Regions from separate parts of the Homo sapiens genome. Here regions 2, 3, 4, 5 and 6 are each linked to region 1. Evidence: promoter capture Hi-C in human tissues and cell types (Jung and others, 2019). All regions are on one chromosome and are shown on one strand. Each heading gives the region's core, a stretch centred on a gene start or on the middle of the fragment in contact. The rest is flanking DNA. Distances are from core to core; before and after follow the strand shown. Region 1 holds the start of SLC38A2 (solute carrier family 38 member 2). Region 2 has its middle 52 kb from the start of SLC38A4. Region 3 has its middle 91 kb from the start of SLC38A4. Region 4 has its middle 110 kb from the start of SLC38A4. Region 5 has its middle 140 kb from the start of SLC38A4. Region 6 has its middle 110 kb from the start of SCAF11.

What was found. Contacts are between HindIII fragments. The study calls those that stand out against the background at their distance.
Region 2: a fragment that was not itself captured here is called in contact with the fragment with the promoter of SLC38A2 in region 1 in 2 of the 25 tissues and cell types used here (IMR-90 fibroblasts and mesenchymal stem cells).
Region 3: a fragment that was not itself captured here is called in contact with the fragment with the promoter of SLC38A2 in region 1 in 1 of the 25 tissues and cell types used here (mesenchymal stem cells).
Region 4: a contact is called between a fragment that was not itself captured here and the fragment with the promoter of SLC38A2 in region 1, in 1 of the 25 tissues and cell types used here (lymphoblastoid cells).
Region 5: a contact is called between a fragment that was not itself captured here and the fragment with the promoter of SLC38A2 in region 1, in 1 of the 25 tissues and cell types used here (IMR-90 fibroblasts).
Region 6: a contact is called between a fragment that was not itself captured here and the fragment with the promoter of SLC38A2 in region 1, in 1 of the 25 tissues and cell types used here (hippocampus).

The regions. Positions count from the first base shown.
Region 1 is chr12:46,371,254-46,374,176 of GRCh38, reverse strand. It overlaps SLC38A2 (solute carrier family 38 member 2), which reads left to right and starts at 1,404. Exons shown (of 16, transcript NM_018976.5): 1 at 1,404-1,668; 2 at 2,798-2,923. The coding sequence starts at 2,884. SLC38A2-AS1 (SLC38A2 antisense RNA 1) reads right to left here and starts at 1,394. Exons shown (of 2, transcript NR_187299.1): 1 at 1,315-1,394; 2 at 399-864. RefSeq lists enhancers at 845-904, 1,585-1,664, 1,522-2,225, 1,915-2,244, 2,325-2,474 and silencers at 1,155-1,494, 1,695-1,894. The HindIII fragment of the contact is 23,415 bases long and covers 1-2,923 here.
Region 2 is chr12:46,876,119-46,879,041 of GRCh38, reverse strand. No RefSeq gene overlaps it. Among named protein-coding and RNA genes, the nearest start is that of SLC38A4, 52 kb to the right of the region's middle. The HindIII fragment of the contact is 5,424 bases long and covers 1-2,923 here.
Region 3 is chr12:46,733,889-46,736,811 of GRCh38, reverse strand. No RefSeq gene overlaps it. Among named protein-coding and RNA genes, the nearest start is that of SLC38A4, 91 kb to the left of the region's middle. The HindIII fragment of the contact is 3,722 bases long and covers 1-2,923 here.
Region 4 is chr12:46,710,457-46,713,379 of GRCh38, reverse strand. No RefSeq gene overlaps it. Among named protein-coding and RNA genes, the nearest start is that of SLC38A4, 110 kb to the left of the region's middle. The HindIII fragment of the contact is 9,894 bases long and covers 1-2,923 here.
Region 5 is chr12:46,689,445-46,692,367 of GRCh38, reverse strand. No RefSeq gene overlaps it. Among named protein-coding and RNA genes, the nearest start is that of SLC38A4, 140 kb to the left of the region's middle. The HindIII fragment of the contact is 3,931 bases long and covers 1-2,923 here.
Region 6 is chr12:46,099,559-46,102,481 of GRCh38, reverse strand. No RefSeq gene overlaps it. Among named protein-coding and RNA genes, the nearest start is that of SCAF11, 110 kb to the right of the region's middle. The HindIII fragment of the contact is 3,710 bases long and covers 1-2,923 here.

The sequences.
Region 1 (2,923 bases), core at 155-2,654:
TTAAGGCATGCGGGGCGCTTTCCTGTGGCTCGAAGACTAAGCCTTGCATGACAGCGGCATTTAAGGGGATGAGAGGAGATTGGACACCAAAGCAAGAATGGCTATTATTTAAGACTGGCCTGAACAGAGTAGAAGGTTTGCGGTAGGGAAGACTGGCCTGAACAGAGTAGAAGGTTTGGGGTAGGGAACACAGGAGTGTGATGGGGGAAATCGGGACCTCGCTTGTCAATCATAAACACTGGTGCAGGCGAGGGCACCCGAAGCCTCACGTGCGGCGGAAATAGGCAGTTGTACGGATTTCCTCAGTAAAACATTGAAAGCAAAAACTGCGATCACACCCAGCCCTTTCCTCTATGCCCTGCCCAATTTCTCCCAAGTCCCCAAAAGGAAGAGAGCAGTAGGTCAAACTTGTTTATTCATTCATTCCATGAACATTTCTCTCTCCTAAGGGGTCTTTGTTTCCTGCAAGGGAGTGAGTCTTGCCTTTCCCGCAGCACCAATTTTTCCACAGCGAAGGGTCCCCCTAGTTGCCTGGCTCAGCAAGACCACACACATCACCATTGAAGGGAAAGGACCAGGCTCCGCAGAAAGCGCCTCAGACCCGCATTCAGACAAGGCAGTGCCTTTGCCCGGGGCGGCGGTGGTGGGATAAGAGAAGCAACGTGTCAGCGAGTGGAAAACTGGGGACTCCCAAACGGCCTTAGGAGCGCCGGGCTCCCCACTGGGGCCTCTTTCTAAGGGGCCTGGCTTGCTGGCCAAAAGGTAGCCTTTCCGCTAGTCCAGTTTCCATGGCCGTACAAAAAGCACATCCCGAAAAGGAGCTGCTCGCCGACCTCCGGCTAGTTTTGAAGAGTGAAAGCAGGTCTAGGTGGAAAAGAAAGAACAACAAACCATCAGGACAACCTTGCTGCCTTGGCCCAAGTTTGTGAGACAAAACTTCACTGTAAATCACAAAAATAACAATCAAGAAAGTGTTTGGTGGGAGGGTGGTGTCCCCCAAAAGCCTTGATGTGTCCCCCGAAAGCAAGGACTGCTGGTGACTCGGACAGGAGAAAATTTTAAGGAGATGGCTCCTCAAAGACAACCGCATGTGTTGAGCACCAACCCTGGCTGAAAAGGATAGGCAGGGGAAGCATCTGGGGGTCTTTCCAGACTATCTAGAAAGCTGGAGAGAGTGGGCTTGGGCTTTGCGGGAGAGTCTTGGGGGCGCCTGCGGGCGGGGCTGGGCCGCGGGCGCGGGCCGCAGAGGGAGGGGCAGGGAGGCGGGGCCTAGGTCTGGGCGGGTCGGAGGCGGGGCCCAGGTGGTGTTGATACACAAAGAGAAGGCGCCCGGGCGGCCGCGGTCCCGCCCACTGACGCGTCCCCGGGGTGCCGCTATAACCCGCCGCTCGCAGGGCTGCTCCACAGCCGCGCGACGCCGCCGCCTTAGAACGCCTTTCCAGTACTGCTAGCAGCAGCCCGACCACGCGTTACCGCACGCTCGCGCCTTTCCCTTGACACGGCGGACGCCGGAGGATTGGGGCGGCAATTTGTCTTTTCCTTTTTTATTAAAATTATTTTTCCTGCCTGTTGTTGGATTTGGGGAAATTTTTTGTTTGTTTTTTATGATTTGTATTTGACTGAGAGAAACCCACTGAAGACGTCTGCGTGAGAATAGAGACCACCGAGGTAACGCGTGCGGGGGGGCGTCTGTGGGAAGGGCGCGGGGCCCGGGCGAGAGTGGGGGAGGGGCTTCCGGGAGGGGCCGCGCGGGAAGGCGGCCGCGGGGTCCGTTTCCTTTCGAGGCGGGCGTTGTCGGTTGGGCTGGCCAGCCTTCCACCCTGGCCCGCCGCGCGGGTGTCGCGCCCGCGACGTGGGTAGGAGAGCGGGCGCTGGGCGGGGGCCGCGTGCCTGCACGGTGCGGAGCCGCATCTTCCCATTAGGGGGAGGGGAGCTAGCCCGGCCAGCGGCTCTGCTGCGGCAAGTCTTGTGACTGATTTGCATTTAATAAAAAAAAAAAATTAAGTCCAGGGAGCCAGGAATCTGGGGGCGGCGGAGGTGGGCTTGGGCATGTATTACAGGAGAGGCCAAGATTGGGGAAGACGAGTTGGGAACATTTGACAATCGACGATCGATATTGCATCAGTTTTCTTTCCGGACATAGGAGGGGCTGGGCGGGCGTAGCACTCGCGGGCCAGCTGCCTGTGGACGGGTGTGCTTGAGGGCACTGGCGCGCGTGTGTAAACAAACCCCCAGCTCCCGGGGCCCGGGCGTTCGCCCCCCTCGAGAGAGGAGTAGTGTCGGCCCTTTCCGCCTCCTGGGGAAGGCTGTCTGCGGCAGAGGCATTTCTCCGTGTGGGGACTCCGGGCAGTAAAGGACAGATTACGCAGCATTGCTGTTCCAAATGCTAGAAACGGAAAGCCGTGCGCCTAGGTTGCATGCACACGAGCCAGGGTCGGGGCTGGATGTGTGCCCTGAGTGCCTGTGCAAGTTTGGAGCGACTGGGAAAAAGCAAAACAGAACCCCCCCTCGCCCCCTCCACTCCGACGAGGGACAATAGAGAGGGTGAAATACTGAAATCTGCCGGAGTAGGGGGCCTCGACGGCCGCAACACAGCGGTGGCATCATCTTTGTTCTCCCCGCGGCTCCGCCGTCTGTACTTTTCCGCCCCTCGGCGCGCCCCCGCCCCTCGCGCGCGGCTGGTACTTTTCCACTCGCCTGGCCTGGGATGAATCAGCCGCGCTGCGCCTCCGGGCGGCGTCACGTGACCGCGGCGGGCTGGCGCTGCGGTCCTGACGCGCCGCCTCTACTTTCGCAGGCCGACTCGCGGGCCGCTGCACCCACCGCCAAGGACAAAAGGAGCCCAGCGCTACTAGCTGCACCCGATTCCTCCCAGTGCTTAGCATGAAGAAGGCCGAAATGGGACGATTCAGTATTTCCCCGG
Region 2 (2,923 bases), core at 304-2,803, 500 kb before region 1:
TATTTCTGTGGGTTCAGTGATGATATCCCCTTTATCATTTTTTATTGTGTCTATTTGATTTTTCTCTCTGTTTTCTTTTTTATTATTCTAGCTCACTGTCTATCTATTTTGTTAATTTTTTCAAAAAACCAGCTCCTGGATTCATTGATTTTTTTGGAGGGTTTTTCATGTCTCTATCTCCTTCAATTCTGCTCTGATCTTAGTAATTTCTTGTCTTCTGCTAGCTTTTGGATTAGTTTGCCCTTGCCTCTCTAGCTCTTTTAATTGTGGTGTTAGAGTATTGATTTGAGATCTCTCTACCTTTCTGATGTGGGCATTCATTCCTATAAATTTCCCTTTTAGCACTGCTTTAGCTGTGTCCCAGAGATTCTGGTACATTGTCTCTTTGTTCTCATTGGTTTAAAAGAACTTCATTATTTCTGCCTTAATTTCATTATTTACCCAGTAGTCATTCAGAAGCAGGTTGTTCAGTTTCCATGTAATTGTGTGGTTTTGAGTGAGTTTCTTAATTCTGAGTTCTAATTTGATTGCCCTATGTTTTGAGAGATTGTTATGATTTTCGTTCTTTTGCATTTGCTGAGGAGTGTTTTACTTCCAATTATGTGGTTGATTTTAGAATAAGTGCCATGTCGCACTGCAAAGAATGCATATTCTGTTGATTTGGGGTGGTGAAATTTGCAGCTGTGTCTTTGAAATAAGCCCAGTGATTACAGTGGGATCCTGGTGTGTCTTCACTAGTAGTGGCAGCTACAGTGGCCATGATGGTATTGGAGAAAATGCACAGCAAGCATGAGGATTGTAGTCTCTCAATGGACAGGAGAGTAGGGTCTCCAGGTGGTCCAGTTTACTCTTCCCATGAACCATTTTTTGTTACATGTACTTTAAATAGTTCCCCATATACTAGCTGATAACTATTATTCTTTCCTCCTTCCCCAAGGCAAAAGATACTTAACTTTTATTTTATTTTAAAAATTTCCTTAAAATACAAAAATCTTTTATAGATTTAGAGGGTACAAGTGCAGATTTATTACATACATATATTGTGCTGTAGTGAAGTCTGGGGTTTTAGTGTAGCCATCACACACATAGTGAAGGAATTTAACTTTTAAACTATCTCATTTAAATACTTGAAGTTGTGTCATTTAAAATTGCATATAAATGTTTTAAAGTATAAGTAAATGAATTATTTACTCTAACTGAATATTGAATCTTTGCTAGTTGTGTTGTTTTGGGGCATCCACTGGGTGCTGTGATAATTCCAGATAATAAGGCGGTATCCATATAAAAGAATTATACTGTATGTTAAAAGGCACATAGCATAATGGAAAGGTTTATGGATATGGCTGGGCAGGTGTGGTAGCCTTATTATGTGTATCAGTAAGGTTGTTAGTTGTAAGCAGTAACGCAAATGTTAGCTGATTTTGGCAGAAAATCTATTTAAGAAAAGAAGCATGGGCAGCTGAGGGGCCCACAGGAAGGACAGAGGCAGAGCCACCATGTGCTGACAGAGCCTGCATCTGCCAGGGGCACCTTTTCCTTTTTCATATGAAGGCCCTTGACAGACAAGCTGTGGCTTTGGGTGGAGAATCCAGTATAGAGTTACAGAATGTAGAAACTGTCTCGTCACACCAGAGGGCTTGTTTCGGGAAGCCATGCAGTGCTCACACCACTGGCGTTCCCACTACTACTGCCAGAGAGTGCATCCTCCACTGTTGCCAGAGAGTGCATCCTCCATATCTCTGTGGCTCCACGGTGGGGTGTGTTGGGCTTAACTGCAAACAAGGTGGGGAAAGCAAGTTCCTGATGTATTCAACTTTAATAATGAGCAGAGCCTGAGTCTCCCACTGAGACTCATAAGGTGAGCAATTCCCCAAACACTGAAAGGGGAGTCAGACACTGAACAGCTAAGAATTGCCACACCATTTATTTGTTGTTGTTCTTTCCTGTCCTTTTTGTTATTGTTGTTGTTTTACCTTTATTTCACCTTTACGCTGGCATTCTGAAACATAGACAAATGAGTTAGTGCCTAAATGCAATGGAAGACTACAGGAAATCAGCACAAAGCTAAAAAAGAACCAACCCATGTATAAGTGAGGACCTTAACTGAAAAAGCAAATTATTTTTGCAATAATTGTATTGTCCTTCAGGCTACTGATATTTGTTCCATTCACATGGATGACTGTGTGACATGAAGAGATGTGATTGTTGAGGTGTTAGTTTTCAATAAAAGCACTATGTATGATTAAGCTTAACTCAATTTTTTATTTATTAAAATTTGACCACATTATTACTATTGTTATTATCTATATCTACAATGTATAATGAATAGATGTAGCACTCTTCATCCTTGAAAATGTTGTCCTTTGATTTCTCACTTTTTCTTGCTTTTTGTTTTCTTCTTTTCCATCATTTTCTTCCTGCTGCCATAGCAACATGTATCTCAACCGTAAGCCATCTGAACTTGATCCTGGTTAAATTTAATTTAATTCAGTAAGTATTTATTATTTGCCTAATATGTACAACACATCACAGATGTTCTAAAAAATTCAGCAAAAAGTTCTTTCCTTGTCTCACTTCTCACAGCTTATAACATATCAAACTGCACCAGGTAGATAGTTGATAGAAATGGTGAGATGAATGGACAGATGTAGGCAAGATACACATAAAACAAATGAATCAAAGTTATCCATCAAATCTCAGTACAACAATCCTCTTTGTCACAACTTCTTTGTTATTGTTGCTGTTACTCTTTTATGTCTAAAACAACCTTATTTTAGTATACAATTCAATATCAAACATTAAATCCCTTTAGAAATTCACTATATAGAAGATAAAACCAATGATTTATAAATAAAAGAAAGCATATTTCATACAAGAAAAAATTTTAGAAATGCCTTTTATTTTTAACTCTTTTTTCTAATAT
Region 3 (2,923 bases), core at 318-2,817, 360 kb before region 1:
TTGCTTTATAGAGTTTGTGAGCTATGTGCTTAGGTGAGTCTTGTGGTGGCATTCTTAGAACTCACCCCATCTCTACTAAAAATACAAAAATTAGCCGGGCATGGTGGCAGGCACCTATAGTCCAGCTACTCAGGAGGCTGAGGCAGGAGAATCGCTTGAACTCAGGAGGTGGAGATTGCAGTTAGCTGGGATCGTCCCACTGCACTCCACCCTGGGTGACAGAGCAAGACTCCGTCTCAGAAAAAAAAAAAAAAAAATCACTCGTAAGGCTGGTTTATTGGTTTAAAAATAATTAATTTCCTTAGCATTTACTTGTCTAGAAAAGATTTTATTTCTTTTTGCTGACAAAGCTTAGTTTGATGGAATATAAAATTCATGGTTGGAATTACTTTAAGAATGCCAAAAATAGGCCCCCAATCTCTCTCAGCTTATAAGGTTTCTGCTGAGAAGTCCAGTGTTAGCCTAATAGAGTTTCCCTTTAAAAGTCATCTGACCATTTTTTTCTAGCTGTCTTTAAGATTTTTTTTTTTACCATTGACCTCAGACAGTCTGGTGACCATATGCCTTTGTTATGCTCATTTTGTAAAGTATCTAGCAAGTGTTCTCTGGATTTCTTGTATCTGGATGTTTATCTCTCTGGCAAAAATACGGATATTTTCTAGAACTATTCCTTCAAATATGTTTCCATGTTGTTTACTTTTTCTCCTTGTCTCTCAGGAATGTCAATAATTCATACATTTGGCTACTTTACATAATTTTATATTACTTGAAGATTTTGCTCATTTTTAAATTTCTGTCTGTGTTAGTTTAAAAGATCAATCTTAAACTTTGAAATTATTTATTCTGCTTGGTCCAGTTTATTGATAAAGCTTTCAGTTGTATTTTGAAATTCCTTAAGTAAGTTTTTCAATTCCAGAAGCTCTGACTAATTTCTTTTTAAGATGTTTATCCCTTTTTTCATTTTCTGGATTGCTTTAGAAGTTTCTTTGTGTTGATTTTCAACCTCGTCTTGGATCTTGTTGTGCTTCCTTGCAATCCATGCTTTGAATTCTTTATCTGTCATTTCTGAGTTTCTATTTTGGTTATGGATTATCATTGGCTAGTTAGTGTGATCCTTTGGTGGTATCACAACATTCAGATTTTTTGTGATGCTGGAATTCTTACACTGATTTCTTGTCATCTGGAGATGCTGGCACTTCTAATTTTTGTAATTATTTTCATATGGACAAGATGTTTTTTCTTTCTTTTTTCCCATATAATATTTTTTTCTTTCTTTTTCCCCACTTCCCTAGGGGGTGTAACTGGAGAGAATTCTGGATACGGTCTTTTGGCTTTGTTTCTATAGCCCTATAAACCTCTATTAGCAAGTTTTATATTGGGCTATGCAGTTTGACCTAGAGGTCATAGATTATTCTTATAGGTAAGAGTTGGCTGCAGCCAATAGGGTTGGGTACATACTTGATCCTTCTTTATTGGAAGAAGTTCTCTGTTACCTCAGGCAATGGGCTGATCCTGGAGTGCACAGTGGTCTGAGCACCCTGCTCAGCCCAGGGGTGGGGGCAAGATGGATGGGGCTGAACCAGACAGAACCATCTATAGGTCCCCGATGGAAGTCACAAGCACTAGTACTGAAGGAGAATCCAGCGGGTGGCCACCAAGCACCCAGAGATGTGCCTAGGCATAAAGCTAGGAAAACTCCTTGGCCCCAATTGCTCTGCATGGGAAGTGAAGGTAGCCTAAACTCAAAATCCAGGAGAATGGGTACGTCAGATGTGTGGAGATTTTCCTGGGCATGAAGTGTAGGGGGCTCCTACACTACACCAAATTCTCTGCACAGGATGAGAGGGGTGCCTCAGGCTGTTAACTGGATAAACAGATGCCCTGAATGCCTGAAGATCTGCCTTGGTGTGGGGTGAGGATGGTTGTGCCTCAACACACTCTTTTTATCAGCTAGACACTGCCATGGAGGTTGTTTGTCCATATTCTTCTCCCTAAGATCTAGGATGTCCTTCATGATTCCAGCGGATTACTATTTTTTTTTTCTTGAATGAAAGCTCACAGAGTTGATCTTGATGCACTATTTTTCTGTTTCCAGGTGGCTGAAAAATGCTAAAAGCCTCTAATCCACCATCTTTGAAAAAAATGAAAAGTGAATCTTGAGTGATGTGGAGAAAGATGCAGCTTGGCTGAGAAGCGTAAGTCTGGGAGGTGGGTGAGGAAAGACAGGAATAGAGGGAATTTGTACATATATCTGCATAGAGGTAATAATTAGTAAAAAAATGTTAAAAATGAACATATTTGATCGACTAGAAAAGAAACAGTGTCGTGCAGAGGTTAAACATAAGGACTATAAACTGAAGTTGCAGGAGTTGGAATACTGATTCTGCCACTTACTGCCTTTGTAACTTTGGAAAACTTTCCTAAATTATCAAATTATCTATGCCTCAAATTCCTCAACTGTAAGTTCTAGCTAACAATACTTTTTGTAGATTACTGAGTCAATGCATGTGAAGTACTCAGCATGGTGCCTAGCACATACTAAACATATTGTAAAAAATGCTTACTGTGATGGTTAATAATGAGTGTCAACTTGATTGGATTGAAGGATGCAAAGTATTGATCCTGGGTGTGTCTTCGAGGGTGTTGCCAAAGGAGATTAACATTTGAGTCAGTGGACTGGGAAAGGTACACCCACCCTTAACTTGGGTGGGTACCATCAAATCAGCTACCTCCATGGCCAAAATATAAAGCAGGCAGAAAAATGTGAAAAGGCTAGACTGGCTTAGCCTCCCAGCCTACATCTTTCTCCTGTGCTGGATGCTTCCTGTACTTGAACATTGGACTCCAGGTTCTTCAGCTTTGGGACTCAGACTGGCTTCCTTGCTCCTCAGCTTGCAGATGACCTATTGTAGGACCTTGTGAT
Region 4 (2,923 bases), core at 186-2,685, 340 kb before region 1:
AAGAAAATGTGGCACATATACACCATAGAATACTACACAACAATAAAAAAGAGCAAAATCATGTCCTTTGAAGCAACATGGATGCAGCTGGAGGCCATTATCTTAAGTGAATTAATGCAGAAACAGGAAACCAAATACTGCATGTTCTCACTTATAAGTGAGAGCTAAACATTTGGTATACATGATCACAAAGCCGGGAACAATAAATACTGGGACTCCAAAAAGTGAGATGGCAGGAGTGGGGGCAAGGGTTGAAAAACTACCTACCAGGTACTATGTTCACTAATTGGGCAGCAGGATCTTTAGAAGCCCAAATGTCAGCATCACACAACATATCCATGTAACAAACCTGCACATGCATCCCTTGAATCAAAATAAAATAAATGAAATAGGGCCAGGCATGGTGGCTCACGCCTGTAATCCCAGCACTTTGGGAGGCCGAGGCAGGCGGATCACTAGGTCAGGAGATCGAGACCATCCTGGTTAACACGGTGAAACCCCATCTCTACTAAAAATACAAAAAATTTGCTGGGCGTGGTGGTGGGCACCTGTAGTCCCAGCTACTCTGGAGGCTGAGGCAGGAGAATGGTGTGAACCTGGGAGGCAGAGCTTGCAGTGAGCCGAGATCGCACCACTGCACTCCAGCCTGGGTGACGAAGAGAGACTCCATCTCAAAACCAAACCAAACCAAACCAAACAAAAATAAATAAAAAACAAATAAATAAAATAAAAAATATATTTTTAAGTCAACAACAACAAAAAAAGGTTTTTGGGATAGCATCTCACCATGTTCCCTGGCTGCTCTCGAACTCCTAGGCTCAAGTGATCCTCCTGCTTCAGCCTCCCACATTGCTGGGATTACAGGTGTGCACCACTGTGCCCAGGTAGAAAAAATATTTTTTAAAAAAAGAAAACGAAATAAAGATAGTTTTTAGACAAAAAAAGGACAGAACTCATGCCAGTAAACCTTTACAGAAATAAAAAACTCACAAAGATATTTTTTCAAAAAAATTGATTTCAAAAAAAATGATCCAAGATGGAAACATGGAGGTGAAGAGAAGAATGAAGGGTATTAGAGGGAGGAAATTTAAGTTAAAATTATTTCTTCAAAGCATTTATAAAAATGCCTTGTGGGAATTGCTATATGTATAGAATTAAATACTAGACAAAGATAATATAAAGGATAGGAAGGATACTGCAATAAACATACAAATGCAGATATTTGTTTAAAAATAAACTTACTTATTTTTCTTTGGGTAGATACCCAGTAGTGAGATCGCTGAATCAAATAGTAGTTCTATTTTAAATTCTTTGAAAAATATCCACGCTGTTTTCCACAGAGGTTGTACTAATTTACATTCCCGCCAACAGTCTGTAAGCATTCCTTTTCTCTGCATCTTTGCCAACATCTGCTTTTTTTTATTTGTATTTTTCATAATAGCCATTCTAACTGGTGTAAGATGATATCTCATTGTGGTTTTAATTTGCATTTCTCTGATGATTAGTGATGTTGAGCATTTTTTCATATGTTTTTTGTGACTTCTTTCAAAAAAATGTCTGCTCATGTTTTTTTGCCCACTTTTTAACAGGGTTATTTGGTATTTGTTGTTGTTGAGTTGTCTGACTTCCTTATAAATTCTGAATATTAGTCCCCTATTGGTTGCATAGTTTGCAAATATTTTCTTTCATTCTCCATGTTGTCTGTTCAGTCTATTGATTATTTCTTTTGCTGTGCAGAACCCTTTAGTTTAATTAAGTCCCATTTGTCTATCTTTGGTTTTGACGCTTGTGCTTTTGAGTTCTTAGTCATGAATTCTTTGTCTATACCAATGTCCAGAAAAGTTCTCCCTAGGTTTTCTTCTACTATTTTCCTAGTTCCAAGTCTTACATCTAAGTGTTTAATTCATCTTGCATTGTCTTTTGTATATGGTGAGAGAAAGGGGTTCAGTTTTATTCTTCTGTATATGGCAATCTAATTTTCCCAGCACAGTTTATTGAAAAGGGTATCCTTTCCCCAGTGTATGTTTTTGTTGACCTTGTCAAAGGTCAGTTGGCTGTAGATATGTGGCTTTATTTCAGATTCTCTGTTCCGTTCCCTTGATCTATGTATCTATTTTTGTACTAGTACCATTCTGTTTTGGTTACTATAGTGTTGTAGTGTAATTTGAAGTTGGGTAATATGATGCCTCCAGCTTGTTCTTTTTGCTTAGGATTGCTTTGGCTATTCAGGCTCTTTATTGGTTCCATATTAATTTTATGATTTTTTTCTAATTCTGTGAAAAATAGTAAAGATATAAAATCAACCTAAGTGTTCATCAACAGATGATTAGATTAATAAAATATGCAATAGTATTGCATATACAAATGCAGTACTATTCAGCCATAAAAAGAATCAATTCATGTCTTTTGCAGCAATATGGATGGAATTGGAGGCTGCTATCTTAAGTGAGACAACTCATAAACAGAAAGTCAAATACCATGTGTTCTCATTTATAAGTCAAATACCAGATGTTCTCTTATAAGTAGTCGTCATAGGTTCAGTCATTGGGGATTGTCCCCTGCCCTTCCTTCACTATAAGGTAGCATCTATGTTTGGGGTTCATGTGCCAACATGGCATCAAGGGAGGCGTGTAGTCCTTAGCCATCTGTCTACACTGGTATTCACTGCCATGAATCGTCATTGTTCCACCTGGCTATTGGCATTGCTCCTCCATGCTGACATCTTTTAAGAGGTCACACTCTCAGTGATTTTTAGACATACTGTCTATACCTCAGCCTCAGGTCTGCCAGTGTGCTCTTAGCAAGGTTTGGTGCCTCTTATTTATTTATTTATTTATTTATTTATTTATTTATATTTTGAGATGGAGTCTTGCTCTGTTGCCCAGGCTGGAGTGCAGTGGCGTGATCTCTGCTCACTGGAACC
Region 5 (2,923 bases), core at 208-2,707, 320 kb before region 1:
GCCTAATCAAAAGCATGAAAAAATTTACTCTTATGTTTCCTTTGAAACGTTTTGTAATTTTTTGTCTTACATTTGTCTATGATCCATTTTGAGTTAATTTTTCTATATGATAATGTGATAGGGGTCCAACTTCATTCTTTTGCTTGTGGATATCCATATGTCCCAGAAACATTTTTTGAAAATACTCTTCTTTCCCATTGAATCATATTGACATCCATATGAAAAATCAATTACCATAAATGTTAAGTTTATTTATGGACTCCCAATTCTATTACATTAATGTATAAGTCTATCCTTATGCAACTAACACACTGTCTTGATTACTGTAACTTTTTAATACATTTTGAAATTAGGAACTTTCAAAACTCTATTCTTTTTCAAGATGGTTTTGGCTATTCTGGGTCCCTTGCATTTTCATATGGAATTTACAAACAACTTGTCAATTTCTACATAAAAAGAAAGACAGCTGGGATTTGATAAAGATTACATTGCATCTGTAGGTCACTTTGGGGAATATTGCCATCCTGACACTATTCAGTAATCCAACCCATATAGATGGGTTATCTGTCCATTTACTTAGGTCTTTAATGTCTTTCAACACTGCTTTACAGTTTTTTGTGTGCAAGTATTGCAATTCTTTTGTTAAATTTAAGTATCTTGTTCTTTAATGGTATTGTAAATGAAATTTCTTATTTTCATTTTTGGATTCCTCACTATTACTACACAGAAATACAGTTGATTTTTGTATATTAATCTTGTATTCTTCAACTTTGCTGAAGTTATTTATTTCAATCATTTTCTTTGGTATTTGTTGGCAAGTTACTTACATAAGACAATACCATCTGTGAATAGAAATAATTTTATTTCTTCCTTTCTGATCCATCCAGATTAGAATGCCTCTATTTCTCTTTCTTAAATAATTTCTCTGACTAGAATGTTCAGAACAATGTTGAAGAAGTGATGAGTAGAAATTCTTGTCTTGTTCCTAATCTTAGAAAGCTTTCAGTCTTTTATCATTAAGTATGTTAGCTGTGGGGTTTTCATACATGCTTTATATTATGTTAAGAAAGTTCCTGTATACTCCAAGTTTATTGACTGTTTTTACTATGAATGGATATTGAATATTGTCTAATGTTTTTTCTGCATCTATTGAGATGATTTTTTTGTTCTTTATTCTATTAATATTGTGTGTTATATTTATTGATTTTCACATGTTGACCCAACCCTCCATTCCTGGGATCAGTTTCACTTGGTGATGGTGTATTATCGTTTTTATATATTGTTATATGTGGTTTGCTAGTATTTGGTTGAGGGTTTTTGCATCTATGTTCATAAGGGATATTGGTCTGTAGTTTTCTTGGGATGTCTTTGTCAGGTTTTGATATCATGGTAATATTGGCCTCATATAATTAATGGAAAAATGTTCCCTCTTCCTCTTTTATTTGGAAGAGTTTGTGAAAGTTTGATGTTAATTTCCTTTAAACATTTGGTAGAATTAACATTTGGTGAAGGCATCTGGGCCTGGGCATTTCCTTGTGGGAAGGTTTTTGATTACTATTCAATCTCAATCTCTTTAATTACTATAGTTTTTTTTTCAAAGTTTCTATTTCTCTTAGTCCCAGCAGTTTGTGTTCTAGGAATTTGTCAATTTTATCAATGTTAATTAATTTATTTGCATACAATTATTTCCGTATAACCCTTTTTATTGCTGTAAGGTCAGTATGTCCCTGTTTTGTTACTAATTTTTATTAATTTGAGTTGTATCTCTTTTTTCTAAGCCAGTCTAGCCAAAGGCTTGTCAATTTTGTTAATCTTTCCAAAGCACTAACTTTTGGTTTTGTTGATTTTTATATTGATTTTCTATTTCATTTATTGCTGCTTTGTTGCTTCTACTTGTTTTAAGTTTAGTTTACTTTTCTCTTTCCAGTTTCTTAAGGTGGTAGATTAGGTTGTTAATTTGAGATCTTATAGTATAGGCATTTAAAGTTATGCATGTCCCTCTACTCACTGCTTTAGCTGCGTCCCATAAGTTTTGGTATGTTTTGTTTTCATGGTAAAATGTTAAATCTGTGTTCATGGGCATATAAGGTATAAAGATGTAATTTGTATGATAATATATCACAAATGGGGGGAGGGAATGGAGCTTTATGGAAGCAAGTGTTTGTATGCTATTGAAATTAAGATTTATAGTGTGGTTTCCTCAGCTGTCTTTTATATACAATATTTATAATTTCATATATATTTACTTTTAGCAGTGCTCTTTATTTACCTTTAGCAGTGCTCTTTATTCAAATAGATATAGGTTGCTGTTGAGTGTCCTTTCACTTCAGCTTGAAGTAATCCCATTAGCATTTCTTGTAGGTTAGGTCTGCTAGTAACAAATTCTCTGTCTCTGTTTTGAAAAGTCTCAATGTCTTCTTCTTTTTTGGCATATAGTCTTGTTGTTTGTAGAATTATTGGTTGACAGACTTTTTCTTTTATCACTTCGAATATGCCTATTCTGGCCTCCATGGTTTCTAATGAGAAATCAACTGTTAATCTACATGGTAGGTTGTTTCTCTTGCTTTAAGGTTCTCTTTGTTTTTAGTTTTCAACAGATAATGATATGTTTAGGTGTGGATCTCTTTTCTTATCCTACTTAAGAGTTTATTAAGTGTCTTTGGTTTATTGATTAATGTTATTCATTAAATTTGGGAAGTTTTGTCTACTGTTTCTTTTTTTTTTTTTTTTTGAGACAGAGTCTCACTCTGTCACCCAGGCTGGAGTGCAGTGGCACGATCTTGGCTCACTGCAACCTCCGCCTCCCAGGTTCAAGCAATTCCCCTGCCTCAGCCTCCCGAGTAGCTGGGACTACAGGCACGTGCCACCATGCCCAGATAATTTTTGTGTGTTTTTAGTAGAGACGGGGTTTCACTGTGTTAGC
Region 6 (2,923 bases), core at 177-2,676, 270 kb after region 1:
AGGGATGGATGTTTACAGCTCCTGAGGCCCCAGTGGGCCTGTGCTACCTCGTGCTCTTTTATTTTTGCCATCTATAGGCAGCTTGTGTTAACCAGCTCAATTAGACCCTCTACCTTGTCGCAGGGACAGAGGGCTTTCTGTATCTCGGGTTCTTGCCTTGGTCTACCAGAAGAATCGGGTCACACCTGGGCTTGGAGAATGAGTGCAGGTTTTATTGAATGGAGGTAGCACTCAGCAAATGGGGGAAGCCAGAAGTGGATGGAGTGGGAAGGTTTTCCCCTGAAGTTGGGCCACTCAGCGGCCCAGGCGTCTTCCAACCCCCTCAGCTAAACTCCACGTTCCACCGGGAGAATGGCCTGCTGGCATGCTGGTGTTCTCGACATCCTCTGGACATCCAGCCGCTTGTGTGTTCTTCCGCTGATGTGTTTCTCTCCACGTCCAGCCGCTTGTGTGTTCCTGCTAGGGTCTTGGGGTTTTTATAGGCACAGGATGTGGGCATGGCAGGCCAGGGTGGTCTTGGAAAATGCAACATTTGGGCCAAAGGCAGGAGTGCCTGTCCTCACCTAGGTCCGTGGGCACAGGCCTGAGGGTGAAGCCCTAGCCCAGGACCCGCTTTTCTCTACCCAGCACGTCCCTGTCCCCCTCCCATAACAGCTTCATGCCTTAGAGAAACCATTTCAAATTTTGGACAGAATGCAACGGCTTAAAAAGGAAAGCTTAGTAGAGGGAGAATGCAGGAGGGGCAAGAAGTTGCAGGTCTACGTGACTTGCACCAATGACTTGTCCTGAGTCATTGCCCCCTCTGGTGAATGGGCTGGGGCATCCTGGCGTAATCAGGTTGTAAATTAACTGCAACCTTGAGGTATTCTCCTGGTGGGGAAAAATTCTATAGGTGCTTGGATTGTTTTAAGATTCAGTCCCTGGAACTTCTAAGCAAGTGTATAATTAGATAAGGAGGACATTGTACCTGGTGGAAAGAAAGAGAGCAAAGGTCATATTTCATTTGTAAGAAATTAAACATAAAGTAAATAAGGAGGAAAAAGAAAAAGTGTGATGGTTAATATTAGGTGTCAACTTGACTGGATTAGGGATGCCTAAATGGCTGGTAAAGTGTTGTTCATGGGTGTGTCTGTAAGGGTGTTGCCAAGGGAGACTGACATGAGTCAGTGGACTGGAAGAGAAAGACCCACCCTCAGTGTGGGTGGGCACCATCCAATTGGCTGCCAGCGCAGCTGGAACAAAGCAGGCAGATGAAGAGGGATAATTACTTTGCTGCTGAGTCTTTCCACTCTCTCTCTTCTCCTGCTGGACACTTGGCTTCCTCTCCTCCCACCCTCGGACTTCACACTCCATGTTCTTCAGTCTTTGAACTCTGGAACTTGCAGCAAAAGACTTGTGGGGCTCCCAGGCCTTCAGACTGAAGGCTGCGCTGTCAGTTTTCCTCGTGCTGAAGCTTTTGGAGTTGGACTGAGTCACTGCCAGTTTCTGTCTTTCACCAGCTTGCAGATACCCTATTGTGGGACTTTGCCTTGTAATCATGGGAGTCAATTCTCCCTAATAAACTTTCTTTTATATATACACATATCCTATCAATTCTGTCCCTGTAGAAAACCCCAACTAATACAGAAAGGAACAAAAAAATATTTAAAAATAGGGTACTCATTACAACTCCCCACTGCCAAATTCCATTCCATTTCTGTGGAACATGGGCGATGTGTTCATTCTGCCTACTTCCTGCTGAATGAGGATGTAGTTAAAGGACATTGTCATGGAACTGATCTACTGGAACTGGAAATATTCTCACATACCTGGGCTGACAGATGAAAACTGTTGGAGATTTGCAAGTCTCTGGGAGAGTTTACCTTGCATTTCCATGCAGAATGTACAACAGCAGTAGAATCTGCAGCAAAGAAGTATGCCTATTCCCGCAATTATGATCAAGGTCACAAGTAACTTTTCCCACCAGGATGGTTCTGACCCAAACCAGGGCACAAACCATTGATCTGGTGACAATGTGGGATCAGACATAGCTTTAATTTGTTTATGCATATCTTGCAGGGCTAATGAGATTTCCTGAGTTGTCTAGGATGTATACATACACTACTCAGGTTTTCAATAGTTTTGGGGTAAGAGGTGGCCTTTAGTTACATGAAAAGTTTTAATGGTAATTTCTGAGACTTGGAGCACCTGTCACCCAAGCAGTGTACACTGTACCCAATGTGTAGTCTTTTATACCTAACCCCACTCCCACACTTCCCCGAGTCCCCAAAGTCCATTATATCATTCTTATGCCTTTTCATCCTCATAGCTTAGCTCCCATTTATAAATGAGAACATAGGATATTTGGTTTTCCATTTCTGAGTTACTTTGCTTAGAATAATGGTCTCCAACTCCATCCAGGTTGCTGCAAATGCTATTATTTTGTTCCTTTTTATGGCTGAGTAGTATTTCATGGTTATATATATATATCGCATTTTCTTTATCCACTCATTGGTAGATGGGGATTTAGGCTGGTTCCATATTTTGGCAATTGAGATTTGTGCTTCTATAAACTTGCATGTGCAAGTGTCTTTTTTCATATAAGGACTTATTTTCCTCTGGGTAGATACCTAGTCATGGGATTGCTGGATTTAATGGTAGTTCTACTTTAGTTCTTTAAGGAATCTCCATAGTGTTTTCCATTGTGGTTCTACTAGTTCACATTTTCACCAGCAGTGTAGAAGTGTTCCCTTTTCACCACATCCACACCAACATCTGTTATTTTTTTATTTTTTAATTATGGTCATTCTTGCAAGAATAAGGTGGTATCTCCTTGTGGTTTTAATTTGCATTTCCCTGATAATTAGTGATGCTGAGCATTTTTCATATGCTTGTTGGCCATTTGTATATCTTCTTTTGAGAATTGCATATTCATGTACTTTGG